Regions from separate parts of the Homo sapiens genome. Here region 2 is linked to region 1. The links are contacts of gene promoters, found by promoter capture Hi-C in human tissues and cell types (Jung and others, 2019). All regions are on one chromosome and are shown on one strand. The core of a region is centred on a gene start or on the middle of the fragment in contact, and the rest is flanking DNA. Distances in the headings are between cores, read along the strand shown. Region 1 holds the start of KDM2A (lysine demethylase 2A). Region 2 has its middle 14 kb from the start of RNASEH2C.

Region 1 (6,883 bases), core at 231-2,730:
AGAGATTGGCTGGGGAAATGCCCGGATCGCGGCTGGGCTGCTCGCATGGCACTGCTCGGGTACCTCCGGCCGGGCTCCGTCGACGTTCGGAGCCTGCTGGCCCGTCGGGCAGCTGTCGGGCCGCGGGAGTCGGTCCGTGGGCAGGGCCGGCGCAGCTCGGGCGGCTGCTGCCCCGTCGCTGACCCCCGCGCGAAGCTGCGCGCACCAACAGGAGACATCTTCCCGGCCGGGCCTCCCGCGCCCGCCACGGCCCAGGGCGGCAGGGTCGGGCCGGGGGCCGGGGGCGGCCCGCGCACCCCTCCGTGGGGGGCGCCCCGACTCGCCGGGGGCGGGGTCACGTCCCACCCGGGCCGCCGGGGGCACCGGCGCGGCGGAAAGCTGAGCGTGGCCGAGGAGCGGGGGCTTCCTGGGCCACCTCGCCGGGCGCCTCCGGCCGGCGGTGGGCGCGCCGGCCGCCACCGCCCCCGGGCCGTCGCGGAGACCGCTTCTGCGCCTGGTACCTGTGGACGCCCTTGTTAAGCGCCTGCAGCACCCCCGGGGAGCCGAGCCCAGGACAGACATGCTACTCCTGTTTCCTGCCCCTTCGGAGCGACGAGCAGTGGGTGAGGCGGGGCCAGGCCGCTGCACCGAGGAGCCCCCGGGCCCAGGGCAGACGGGCCCCGTGGCGGCGGCGCCGGGGCCTGCCCGGGAATGGCGGGCAAGCCGGCCTCGGCCCACCGGCCGGCACGCGAAGGGAGGGCAGCCGGCGGCCATGCGCCCCTTCCCTGCGCCCTCTCGCCCTGGGCAGGCCTGAGCCGGGAGCCCAGGTCCCGCGGGCCCAGCCCGGCGGCTTGACCCCGGGAGACCCTGCTTTGAGGCGGGTATCGGTTGCCCTGGCCCAGGCCTCCCGGCCCTCAGGTTGTGTGACTGTGACGGGCAGCCTGGGGCCAAAGGCGGTTGAAGGGGAAGGGGACGCAGATCTCCCACTGCTTGGGGGGGGTGATGTGCTTTGTGGGGGGTCGGGGGTCACCACCCTCCCAGGGGGGTGGGGGAGGGCGGCCAGCACAGCTGGCCGCGAGGGGCGGGGTCGCAGAGGCGAAGTGTGTGTGAGGGTGTGTGGGGGGAGGGCGCGCGGAGGAGGATCGGTGCCCTGCGCGCAGGCGCGAGCAGCCAGCCAGGCCCGAGCCCTGGAAGAACGCCGACGGGGAGCGGGGGCGGCGGGCTGGCGGGAGGGAGGGAGGGCGGGCGGCCTGACGCGAGGGGGCGCAGGGAGCCGCGTCGGCGTCGCGGGGCGCGGGCGATTCGAGGCCGACGCATCCGCGCGTGCGCGCGCCGGCGGTGTGTCCGCGTTAGAGGGGAGTGACGCGTGCGCGTTCACGCGCGCCCGGGAGAGCGGTAAGAAGCGCAGGGAGGCCTGAAGGGGGTGGGGGGGTGGAGAGGCGAGCTGGAGGAGGGGTGGGGAGGTGGCGCCTGCGCAGTGCGCCTCGGAGGAGCTGTGTGTATGTGAGAGTCTGACGGGTTCAAAATGGCGGCGGCTGCTTCAGCGGCTCCTCCTGTGTGAGGGAAACAACACCCCTCCCCGGCAGCGGCGGCGGCGGCGGCGGCTCTCGGAGCACCTTCCCAGCGGCTGGGCCCGTGGCCGCTCTGTCTTTCCTGGGCAGGGGACGCTCCGGGAGGAGGGGCAACGCCAGGGGGCCCATCCCCCGGAATCCCTCTTCTGCGACTGGGGAGTAGCCGGGGGGCTCGTCCCGCAGCGCGGAGCCAGACCTGAGGGGGAGACGCGAGGGGAGCCAGGGCCCCCATCCCGGCGCGCCGCGCCGCTCCCGCCCTGTCCGCCCCCCGGGGCCGGGGCCCGCGTTCCGGGGGGCCGGGGCGGCGCGGGGAGCCTCGGGCCGGCCGGTCTCAGCTGATCGGCCGCTGCTCCCGCAGGCGACCAGCCCCTGCTGGCCGAGGGCACGGCGAGGAGGGCGCTCCCTGCGGCCGGGGCCGGCCCGGGGCTCGGGCCCGGGCTGCTGACCGCTGGCCTGGGGGAGGCGGGGGCGCCCCGGGCTCGGCGCCGAGGGGTCGCGCTCCTCTCTCCTGACGCCTCCGACTCCCGGTCTCCAAAGCCAGAAGAGAAGGTTTGATTCAGCAACTGTTTGCTCCCTTTTCCTGGTCGCTCTGACCCTCTCTGGATACTGGGTTGATCCACGGAAAAACCGAAGACGACGTTTGGGATTTAATTATTCCTCTCAGCTTTGGAATCTTTTACTTCTCACTTGGACAAGAACTCAAGAGCAGAATCTCCGGTGAGTTTCCCCCTCCCCCCCCTCATTTGGAAGTTTGGTTGACTGTGTTATCCAAAGACTGAATGCAAAGTTTCTATCTCTTTTTCCGATGGGTGAACCATTGAAACGCCTTTTCCTGGGGGAGCCCAGCGAGATTCGCCCTTTTTCCTCTCCGGCCCTGGCTGCTCCATGCCCAGGCGGTCGTCGCCCAGGGGGTGCAAGCACGGTTTCCCTCCCGACTTCGGGCCAGGGCTTCCTCCGGGAGGGCTCTGCCTCTAACTGCTCTGCAAACTGTGTCATCGGGTCCTCTGGTCTCGTAGCAGTTTTGAAAGGATGCTGTTAACGTGGCTGTAATGTAGTGACAAAAACGGGGGGAACCTGTGTTCTCAATGGAAGCCATTATCCACGAGAATATTTAGAAAAAAGAAAACCCTTTCTTGGTATTACGGATTGACCGTCGCGCCGGCCGGTCTTTTATTTAATTTTTGGACAAGATGTATTTTCCTTGTATCCTTAGATGCAATCGTTTATTTTATTACTTTATCCAAAAAGATCAGATGGAATTTTGGTCCTTGATTTGCACCTCTGAAATTTGTTTCAGAGTTGTGCACATCTTGTGTTGGGGTGGAGGGTAGATTTGGGAATGATAAGATCCGGGGAGTCTAGAAAGGAAGGCGACGATTGTGCACGGCCTTACAGGAGGGGTATGGGAAATTGTTTTGGGGTCATTTAAATCCTAATTTTTTGTCCTCTTTTTACATAGTCAGTTTGCCCTTCTTTCCTTTAGTTTCTGATTACCGGTGAGAGAGAACTAATTTGGTTAGGATCTGGATTAGTTCAGTGGTGCTTCACCTGGTCAGCTCTCTGGAGATAAAAGTCCTGGGCTTTTTTTTTTTCTTGCTGATGCTGCCATGAAGGAGATCCTTGCTAGTTGTAATCCTGTGGGGAGAAACTGGTGGTGTGGCCCTTCCACAAGGAACTGAAACCAACATCTCGTTTCGTCTAGGCCTCCGACAGTTGTAATGTGATTAATGTTGAACATGACATGGAACCACTTGCCCAAGAGCAGAAAGGTCCCAAACTCATGAAGAGGAACCTGATTTTTCAGAGAGCCTTTAACACTTACCTTAAATACTCCTTTCCGTGAACAGAAAGCACAAGTTTGAGAATGAGTTCTCATTTCTGCTTATATCATTATTCTTTAGTGTTGCAATCTGGTTCCTAAGGAGGAAGAGGAAGGCAGCCCTGGAGTGGTTTCTTTACAGTAATTTCAACAGAAGAGTGAGAGATGGAACCCGAAGAAGAAAGGATTCGTTACAGCCAGAGATTGGTTAGTATTTTCTCCCCCCACCACACCCTCCAGTTTTAAAGTAGGATAACTATTTTGTTTCCAGTTGTGAATATACTGTGAATCTGTGATTAAAACTTTTCGGGTGACTTTTCTGTGCACCAGAGGAGGGGGAAAGGTGTATTAATATCGAATTTGGCTTTTGGCCAAACATGTTTTATATTTTATATATTTATCTTGTTTGGAAATGGAGTTATATGTAGCCTTTAGCTTTTATAGAAACCATTGTATACCAAAGGATTTTGTGGATTACAATGTGACAAAGATTCCTGATTTTACAGTACTGACATTGTAATACATCTGATTACGTTAGATTAGAATATAAATTTTGGGGGCAAAGCTGTTTGAGGAAGGATAGTTCAATACGTTTTTTAAGATTTTGTTGTCCCAGGATTTGTGACTTTGAGCGGGGAGAACTATGGATTATTTTCTTTTATTTTATAAATTAACATTTTGGTAGCTTTGAAGGGTTGTTGGGATTGATTGAAGACAAGTAGGTAGAATACTGGATGCTGATAAAGTTCTGTGTTTTGGGAGGAATGTACGAGATAGATCTTGTTGAAAGAAATTTTAGACATGATTTGAAAGGATTGGCTTATATCTGTATATGAACACTTGGATCCTTTAAGCCATGCTTTCCTCGTAAGGTTTCCCTATTGGAGTTTTAAGAATTCAATTTTTGTTTTTCTTAGCCAAAGAGAGCTTTATTAGTAGTCTCACAGTATTAATAAAAATCTGAATTTGTGTTTGAAGAGTGGGCTATGAGGAAAGCGACAGAATTGTATGTAGTATGTGAAATTTGCTGACCTGAAAGGCCTAGAAGATTACTAAAGGAATTTATGGTGGTTTTATTTGGCTCTGCATTTTAGACTGAATTTAGGAGAAAAAGAATGGTTCTCGAATACATTTTCTAGTGATCCTTACTCTTTTTGAGAAGAGACTTCTTTATTATTTATTTATTTTTATTGAGATTGAGTCTCACTCTGTCGCCCACGCTTGGAGTGCAGTGGCGTGATCTGAGCTCACCGCAGCCTCCACCTCCTGGGTTCAAGTGATCCTCCTGCCTCAGCCTTGCAAGTAGCTGGGACTGTAGGCATGTGCCACCACGTCCAGCTAATTTTTGTATTTTTAGTAGAGAACAGGGTTTTACCATGTTGGCCAGGATGATCTCGATCTGACCTCATGATCCACCCACCTTGGCCTCCCAAAGTGCTGGGATTACAGACGTGAGCCACCGCGCCTGGCCATGGCCTATTTTTTATTTATTTTTATTTATTTATTTATTTATTTATTTATTTATTTATTTATTTATTTTTTGAGACAGAGTCTGGCTCTGTTGCCCAGGCTGGAGTGCAGTGGCGCAATCTCTGCTCACTGCACGCTCCGCCTCCTGGGTTCACACCATTCTCCTGCCTCAGCCTCCCGAGTAGCTGGGACTATCGGCGCCCACCACTACGCCCAGCTAATTTTTTGTACTTTTAGTAGAGACGGGGTTTCACTGTGTTAGCCAGGATGGTCTCGATCTCCTGACCTTGTGATCTGCCCGCCTCGGCCACCCAAAGTGCTGGGATTACAGGTGTGAGCCACTGCATCTGGCCTTTTATTTTTATTTTTATAGACAGGATCTTGCTCTGCCCAGGGTGACGTTCAGTGATGTGATCATAACTCACTGTAGCCTCAAATTCCTGGGCTCAAGCAATCTTCCATTCCAGCCTCCTGAGTAGCTGGGACTACAGGCGTGTGCCACCATGCCAGGGTAATTTTCAGACTTTTTTTTTTCTTAGTGACGGGGTCTTGCTATGTTGCCCACCCTAGTCTTGAACTCCTGGCCTCAAGCGATCCTCCCACCTTGGCATCCCAAAGTGCTGGGATTAACAAGCGTGAGCCACAGTACCTGGCTTTTTTTTTTTTTTTTTTTTTTTTTTGTGACTGCTAGAAAGGTTTGGTGTGTATTGGGAAGTATATATTCAGCATGCATATATTCCGGTGAGCCTAATTTCAGAGATTTGTCTTGTTCCCAGTTCATGTGTTGAGATTATAATTCTTTATCTCTAACTTTGTAGAAATTAAGCATATCTGTAGTAGAATATTGTATCGTTGGGATTTATTTTTATTTTTACATTTCTTGAATTTAACTTTTCTTTGGGAACAGAAAAAGAGATGATGCCATAAAACTCCTTTCCCAGGTAGTTATTGCTATATGGAATTCACTTTTATCATGTCAAGTTGTTAGTTAGGTATCTAAGGAATTTTGCAGTCCAGACTTTAAAGGAAGAGCCTTTCCAGCAAGCAAAACTTTTAACTGTTTTTTTTTTTTGAGACGGAGTTTCACTCTTGTCACCCAGGCTGGTGTCCAATGGCACTATCTCTGCTTACTGCAACCTCTTCCTCCTGGGTTCAAGTGATTCTCTTGTCTCAGCTTCCCGAGTAGCTGAGATTACAGGTGCCTACCACCACACCTGGCTGATTTTTGTATTTTTAGTAAAGACTGAGTTTCACCTTGTTGGCCAGGCTGGTCTCGAACTCCTGACCTCAGATGATCCGCCTGTCTTGGCCTCCCAAAGTGCTGAGATTACAGGCATGAGCCACTGGACCTGGACTTTTGGGTTTTGTTGTTGTTGTTTGTTTGTTGGTTTGTTTGTTTTGAGACTGAGTCTCGCTCTGTTGCCCAGGCTGGAGTGCAATGGCACTATCAGGGCTCACTGCAACCTCTGGCTCCCGGGTTCAGGTGATTCTCCTGCCTCAGCTTCCTGAGTAGCTGGGACTACAGGTGCCCACCACCACACCCAGCTAATTTTTATATTTTTAGTAAAGATGGAGTTTCACCATGTTGGCCAGGCTGGTCTTGAACTCCTGACCTCAGATGATCCACCCACATCAGCCTCTCAAAGTGCTGGGATTACAGGTGTGAGCCACCGTGCCCGGCTTCACTTTATTTTTATATATATTTTTTGAAATGGAGACTCACTCTGTTACCCAGACTGGAGTGCAGTGGCACGATCTTGGCTCACTGCAACCTCTGCCTCCCAGGTTCAAATGATTCTCCTGCCTCAGCCTCCCAAGTAGCTGCGATTACAGGCGCCTGCCACCATGCCCGGCTAATTTTTTTGTATTTTTAGTTGAGACGGGGTTTCGCTATATTGGCAGGCTGGTGTCGAACTCCTGACCTCAGATGATCACCCACCTCGGCCTCCCAAAGTGCTGGGATTACAGGTGCGAGCCACTGTGCCTGGCCCACTTTTTTTTTTTTTTTTTTTTTTTAAACAAGGTAGGGAGGAATAGTGGGAAG
Region 2 (7,047 bases), core at 3,999-6,498, 1.4 Mb before region 1:
CAACCTCCGCCTCCTGGGTTCAAGCGATTCTCCTGCCTCATTCTCCCGAGTAGCTGGGATCACAGGCGCCTGCCACCATGCCTGGCTAATTTTTGTATTTTTAGTAGAGACAGGGTTTTGCCATGTTGGCCAGGCTGGTCTTGAACTCCTGACCTCAGGTGATCCACCCGCCTCAGCCTCCCAAAGTGCTGGGATTACAGGCATAAGCTACCGCACCCGGCCAATATTTAATTCTTTTGAATGCATTGTAAATGGAATTGTTTTTAAATTTCCTTTTCAGATTGTTAGCACATAGAAATGCGACTTTTTATGTGTTTACGTTGTATGTGCTACTTTGTTGAAATCATTTATTAATTCTAACAGTTTTTTTTTTTTGATGTGTGGAACCTTTAGAATTTTCTACATAAAAGATCATATCAGGCCTGAGCCTGGTGGCTTATAACAGTAATCATAGCAAATTGGGAGGCTGGGGTGGGAGAATCACATGAGGCCAGGAGTTTAAGAATGCAGTGAGCCATGATTGTGCCACTGCACTCTAGCCTGGGTAATAGAGTAAGACCCCAACTAAAAAAAAAAGGATCAATGTAATCAGTGAACAGAGATGATTTTACTTCTTCCTTTCCAGTGTGGATGCCTTTTATTTCTTTTTCTTGCCTAATTGCTCTGGCTAGAATGTTCAGTGCTATGTTGAATGGAAATAGTGAAAGCAAGCATCCTTGCTTTGTTCCTGATATTAGAGGAAATGTTTTCAATGTTTCACCATTGAGTATGGTGTTCACTGTGGGTGTTTTATATATGGCTTTTTATTATGGTGAGGGTGTATACTTCTATTTCTAGTTTGTTGAGTGTTTATTTTTATCATGAAAAGGTGTTGAATTTTGTCAAATGCTTTTGCTGTTAGAAGGGGAAGGGTCTGTATACCGAAAACTATAAAACACTGATGAAAGAAATGGAAGGAGGCTGGGCACGGTGGCTCATGCCTGTAATCCCAACACTTTGCGAGGGCCAGGTGGGCGGATCACGAGGTCAGAAGTTCGAGACCAGCCTTTCTAATATGCTGAAACCCTGTCTCTACTAAAAATACAAAAAGTAGCCGGGCATGGTGGCGCATGCGTGTGGTCCTGGCTACTCAGGAGGCTGAGGCAGAAGAATCACTTGAACTCAGGAGGTGGAGGTTGCAGTGAGCTGAGATCGTGCCGCTGCACTCCAGCCTGGGTAACAGAGTGAAACTCCATCTCAAAAAAAAAAAAAAAAAGAAATGGAAGGAAACACATATAAATGCAAAGATATCCCATGTTCATGGATTGGAATAATTAGTATTGTTAAAATGTCCATAGTAACCAAACTACCCAAATCCACAGAATCAATGCAATCCTTATCAAAATTCCAAAGTCTTTTTTTATAAAAAAGAAAAAACAATCCTCAAGTCCACATGGAACCACAAAAGACCCCAAACAGTCAAAGCAATCCTGAGCAAAATAACAAATCTGGAGGCATCATACTCCCTGATTTCAAAATATATTATAAAGTTACTGTAATCAAAATAGCATGGTACTGCCATTAAAAAAAAGATATATCAACACATGGAACAGGATATAATGCCCCCAAAATAAACCCATACATTTATGGCAAATTGATTTTTGACAAAGATGCCAAGAATATACAATTTGAAAAGGATACTCTCTTTAATAAATGGTATTGAGAATGCAGAAGATGAAACTAGACTCTTATCTTACACTATATACAAAAATCAACTCAAAATGGATTAAAGACTTAAATATAAAACAAACTGTAAAACTACTAGAAAAAACATAGAGGAAAAGATCTATGACATTGGTCTGAGCAATGAATTTTTGAAAATGACCCTGAAAGCACAGGCAACAAAAGCAAAAATAGACAAATGGGATGATATCAAACTAAAAAGCCTCTGGGCAGCAAAGGAATCAATTAACAGAGTGGAGACAAAAACAGAATGGGAGAAAATATTTGCAAACCATATATCTGATAAGCAGTTAATATCCAAAATATATAACTCAAACAACTCAATGGCAAGAAAACAAATAACCCAGTGAATTAATGGGCAAAGGACCTGAACAGACATTTCTCAAAATACATATGAATGGCCAAAGGTATATGAAAAAATGCTCAACGTGACTAATCATTAGGGAAATGCAAACCACAATGAGATATCACCTCACATGTGTTAGAATGGCTATTATTAAAAAGATGAGGCTGGGCATGGTGGCTCATGCCTATAATCCTAGCATTCTGGGAGGCCAAGGCAAGCAGATCACCTGAGGTCAGGAGTTCTAGACCAGCCTGACCAACATGGTGAAAACCCATCTCTACTAAAAATTAAAAAAAAAAAAAATTAGCCTGGCATGGTGATGCACACCTGTAGTCCCAGCTACTTGGGAGGCTAATGCAGGAGAATCACTTGAACCCGGGAGGCGGAGGTTGAAGTGAGCGGAGATCTCACTACTGCACTCCAGCCTGGGCGACAGGGTGAAACTGCTTCTCAAAAAAACAAACAAATAAATAAAAATAAGAAAATAAGAAAATAAAAAGATGAAAGAAAAAGTGTTGGCGAGGATGTGGAGAGAAGGGCACTCTTGTACACTGTTGGTAGAAATGTAAATTAGTGCAGCCCTTATATAAAAGAGTATGAAGGTTCCTAAAAAACTCAAAATAGAACTACCATATGATCCAGCAATCCCATTGTTGGGTATATATTTAAAGGAACTGAAATGAATATGTTGAAGAGACATCTACAATCTCATATTCATCACAGCATTATTCACAATAGCCAAGATATGGAATCAACCTATGTGTCCACTGGTGGATGAAAGAATAAGGAAAGTGTGGTGTATATAAAAAACAGAATACTATTCAGCCTTTTTTTTTTTTTCGTAAAAAGGGAATTCTGGCTGGACGCGGTGGCTCATGCCTATAATCCCAGCACTTTGGGAAGCCGAGGTGGGCGGATCACTTGAGGTCAGGAGTTTGAGACCAGCCTGGCCAACTTGGTGAAACTCTGTCTGTACTAAAAATACAAAAATTAGCTGGGCATGGTGGTGCGCACCTGTAATCCCAGCTACTCAGGAGGTTGAGGCACGAGAATCACTTGAACCAGGAGGTAGACGTTGCAGTGAGCCAAGACCATACCACTGCACTCCAGCTTGGGAGGCAGAGTGAAACTGCGTCAAAAAAAAAAAAAAAAAAAAGGAAATTCTATTATTTGCCACAACAGGGATTAACCTGGAGAACATTATGTTCAGTGAAATAAGCCAGGCACAGAGAGACAAATACCACATGATCTCACTTATATGCAAGATCTAAAACTGTCCACCTCATAGCCAGCTGCAGTGGCTCATGCCTGTAATCCCAGTGCTTTGGGAGGCTAACATGAGAGGATTTCTTTTTCTTTTTTTTTTTTTTGAGATGGAGTCTTGCTCTGTTGCCAGGCTGGAGTGCAGTGGCGTGATCTTGGCTCACTGCAACCTCCACCTCCTGGGTTCAAGCGAGTCTCCTGCCTCAGTTTCCTGAGTAGCTGGGACTATAGGCACGTGCCACCACACCCAGCTAATTTTTGTATTTTTAATAGAGACGGGGTTTCACCATGTTGGCCAGGATGGTCTCAATCTCTTGACCTCATGATCCACCCACCTTGGCCTCCCAAAGTGCTGGGATTATAGGTGTGAGCCACTGCACCCAGCTGTGAGAGGATTTCTTGAGGCCAATAGTTTCAGACCAGCCTGGGCAACATAGTGAGACCCCATCTCTACCCCCCCAAAAAAAATTAGTCAGGTGTGGTGATGCACACCTGTAGCTCCAGCTACTGGAGAGGCTGATGCAGGAGGATCACTTGAGCCCAGGAGTTCAAGACTACAGTGAGCCATGATTGTGCCACTACACTCCAGCCTGGGTGGCAGAGTAAGACCCCATCTCTAATACAATACAGTAATATAAAAATGTTGTAGAATGCAAAGTATTGTTCCTGGGTGTGTCTGTGAGGGTGTTGCCAAAGGAGATTAACATTTGAGTCAGTGGACTGGGAGAAGCAGACCCACCCTTAGTCTGGCGTGGCACCATCTAATCAGCTGCCAGCACAGCTAGATTAAAACAGGCAGAAGAACATGGAAGGACTTGACTTGCTGAGCCTTCCGGCTTTCATCTTTCTCCCTTGCTGGATGTTTCCTGCCCTCGAACATCAGACTCCAAGTTCTTCAGCTTTTGGACTCTTGGACTTACACCAGTGGTTTGCAGCTCTCGGGCCTTTGTTCACAGACTGAAGGCTGCACTGTTGGCTTCCCTACTTTTGAGGTTTTGGGTCTTGGACTGGCTTCCCTGATCCTCAGCTTGCAGACAGCCTATTGTGGGACTTCACCTTGTGATCATGTGAATCATTACTCCTCAATAAACTCCCCTTCATATATACATCTATCCTATTAGTTCTGTCCCTTTAGAGAACTCTAATATACCTGTCTAACTGAAACTTTGTACCTTTTGAGCAATATCTTCCCATTTCCCACTCTCCCATGCCCCTAGCCTCTGGTAATCTCTGGATACCTGATCTAAGGGGTCCAACAGGATATTTTCATTTTTCAGGTCATAAGATGGGATGGGTTGAAACCTTGTGCCAGCATCATCTTTATGTGGAATCTAGAAGACATAAACTTAAGTAGGAGGTCAACAGGAAAATTATAATTTGGAGGATGAGAAAATTAATGCATCTATGCCCATGGCATCATGTTTTTTATCTTTGTGTTTGTGAAACAACAGCTTTAAGTCTTATAGGAGCTCACAGGTGTAAATCATGGTGTCCTCCTCTTATGCCGTCAGGGATTCATAAGAAACAGATTTAATCTTGGACAGGTGTACCCAACTAGTGATTCCCTGAAGTTTAACAGCAGGGAAGGTACTTAACAATACCTGATAGGGGCTCTTCCATTTGGGTTGTAATTGATCCTCTGGGGATCCTTTTTAACAAAAAGTTTTTTGTAAGACTAGGTGTTCAGGTTGAACAGAGGAGCTATTTCTTTCCTATGTGGGAAAGGGAAGTACTTTGTTATTATAATTTTTGAAGGGCCTTTGTGCCTAGCCTAAATTCTAAGGGGTGGCACAGTGAGGCATGTTTGGCCCCCTGTTTCCTGTCATGGTCTGACTTCTTTTTTTTTGAAGGCTTCTTTGGAATTCCCTTTGGCTAAGGGACTTAGAGTCAAAAGACTTATAGCCAATTAAACATCCTAGGTCAGAAGGAAATGGAGGTGAGCAGGCACTCATTTGCCCTTAAAATCTTTTAAAGCAATATAAGAGTCAAAAACTAAATGCCAATAATAAGGTTATATGTAAAAAAAAAAAAAAAACAGCATAGAATCAAGCTATATTCGGGGAAAACACTGTTTTCGCAGACCTCTAAGACAAAACATTTTAGTACCAGGGCCCAATAGTCAGAACCAGAGGAAAAAAAGTCACAATGTTGATGAAAAGGTTGATGGAAAGAGCCATCATCCCAGGCCTTCTTAAAGGGAGAAAGAATTGAAAGTAGTGAGACACAACAACAGTTGAATCTCTGAGACATGAATCCAAGACATTTTAAAATAAACCAGGTAGATTATTAAAAGCAAAACTTCCTGTAATTTAGCAAATCAATACCTTAAGAAAACCTGTTGCCAATATATAGACCATTCTCTAGAAAGTCTACCACAGTTTTCCTTTAGTCATAGTCAGCTTAAGCTTAATCATACACAAAATTCCCCTTCACAAACCCCATCATGACCCACATGGACCATCTACAACATGCTTGGACTTTCTGACTTGTCCTATAGGACCCCTTCCTTAAAGAACTCATCATTTTACTCTAGGATAAGAATTTACTACACAAGATCCCTCCTCATATAAAATAACTTTGTATTCTTCCTTGTATCCTTCTTTATATCCTTCCTTGTATCCTTCTTTGTATTCTTCCTTGCAAAAAGTACATCTATCCATAACTTTCTTCATATCTCTCTTTTCTACTTACTGGTTCCTTCATATTTTGAACCTCTCTTTTAATAACTTCCAAATTAGACAAAAATTATTATTTTTCCCAATAAAAAACACACTTTCTTTGGCTTATTTTATATAAATCTAAAGAGCAAGAAATTCTGAACTGCTCATCAGACATTGGCACTCTATAGATGAGAACTATTTCACAGCTTTAAGATTTTCAACTATACATAAGCTCACTGTTTAAAAGCCATCCTAACCATTCTAAAGGCTACAAACATCAGAGGTTCATCTAGGTAAAAATCTTAAAGTTAAATTTTAGAAGACATAACATTCCCTTCAAACTAATAAATTTAGACTAGTCTTATTTTTTAATTTATGAATTCTCTTTTATTTATAAGCCAATTTGATAGTATGCTAAACACAACACCCATCACACAAATGAAGTGACCTACACAAGACAGATGGATCCAAGTTACTTATAAAATTGGGACCTGTCTATCTCAATACATTTTGTTTGCCCAGATACGTAGGGAAGACAGGAAGAGGCAGAGAAGGGACCCCATAGCATCAAATAAGGAAGGGAGGTGGTAAACCATGTTGCTCAAGGGGAGGTCTCAGAGTCCTTGAGCTACCAGAGCATCTAGCAGTGGAGACACCAAAGAAAAATGTTCTGGTGGCCACTTGTCTTCCACTGCAAAAAGCTGTCCATTGGGTCAAGGGTCCAGGAATCTGAGTAAATTTACTTGAGCAAGGTGGCTCATTGGGACATATGGAAGAAGGTTAGTTCTAATATTGACGGGGAGCTTTTTCCCTCGTTTGCTGGGGATGGTTAGGACATTCTCATTGTGAATGGTCCTTTTGCTTATAGTAGGCACATTGATTCTGGACCAGGAGCCAGTGAGTTGGGGGCTCTCATCTGGGCATCCCAGATGGTGATCTTGTGACACTTTCTCAGGATAGGTAATTCTAAGGTGGCAGGGGACTTAAAGTAACAGCTAACAATTGCACTTTTTGGCTATTTCTTTTCTTTTTTGAGACAGGGTCTCACTCCAGTTG

Evidence for each region. The method cuts DNA at HindIII sites, captures the fragments that hold promoters and counts their contacts. A contact is called where the count stands out against the background at its distance.
Region 2: a contact is called between a fragment that was not itself captured here and the fragment with the promoter of KDM2A in region 1, in 1 of the 25 tissues and cell types used here (pancreas).

What each region holds. Positions count from the first base shown.
Region 1 is chr11:67,117,783-67,124,665 of GRCh38, forward strand. It overlaps KDM2A (lysine demethylase 2A), which reads left to right and starts at 1,481. Exons shown (of 21, transcript NM_012308.3): 1 at 1,481-2,267; 2 at 3,452-3,576. The coding sequence starts at 3,535. It overlaps LOC107984341 (a long non-coding RNA gene), which reads right to left and starts at 566. Exons shown (of 2, transcript NR_160735.1): 1 at 1-566. RefSeq lists silencers at 388-437, 578-857, 1,038-1,477, 1,618-1,687, 1,868-2,007 and 2 more and an enhancer at 918-967. The HindIII fragment of the contact is 11,710 bases long and covers 1-6,883 here.
Region 2 is chr11:65,731,233-65,738,279 of GRCh38, forward strand. No RefSeq gene overlaps it. Among named protein-coding and RNA genes, the nearest start is that of RNASEH2C, 14 kb to the left of the region's middle. The HindIII fragment of the contact is 9,114 bases long and covers 692-7,047 here.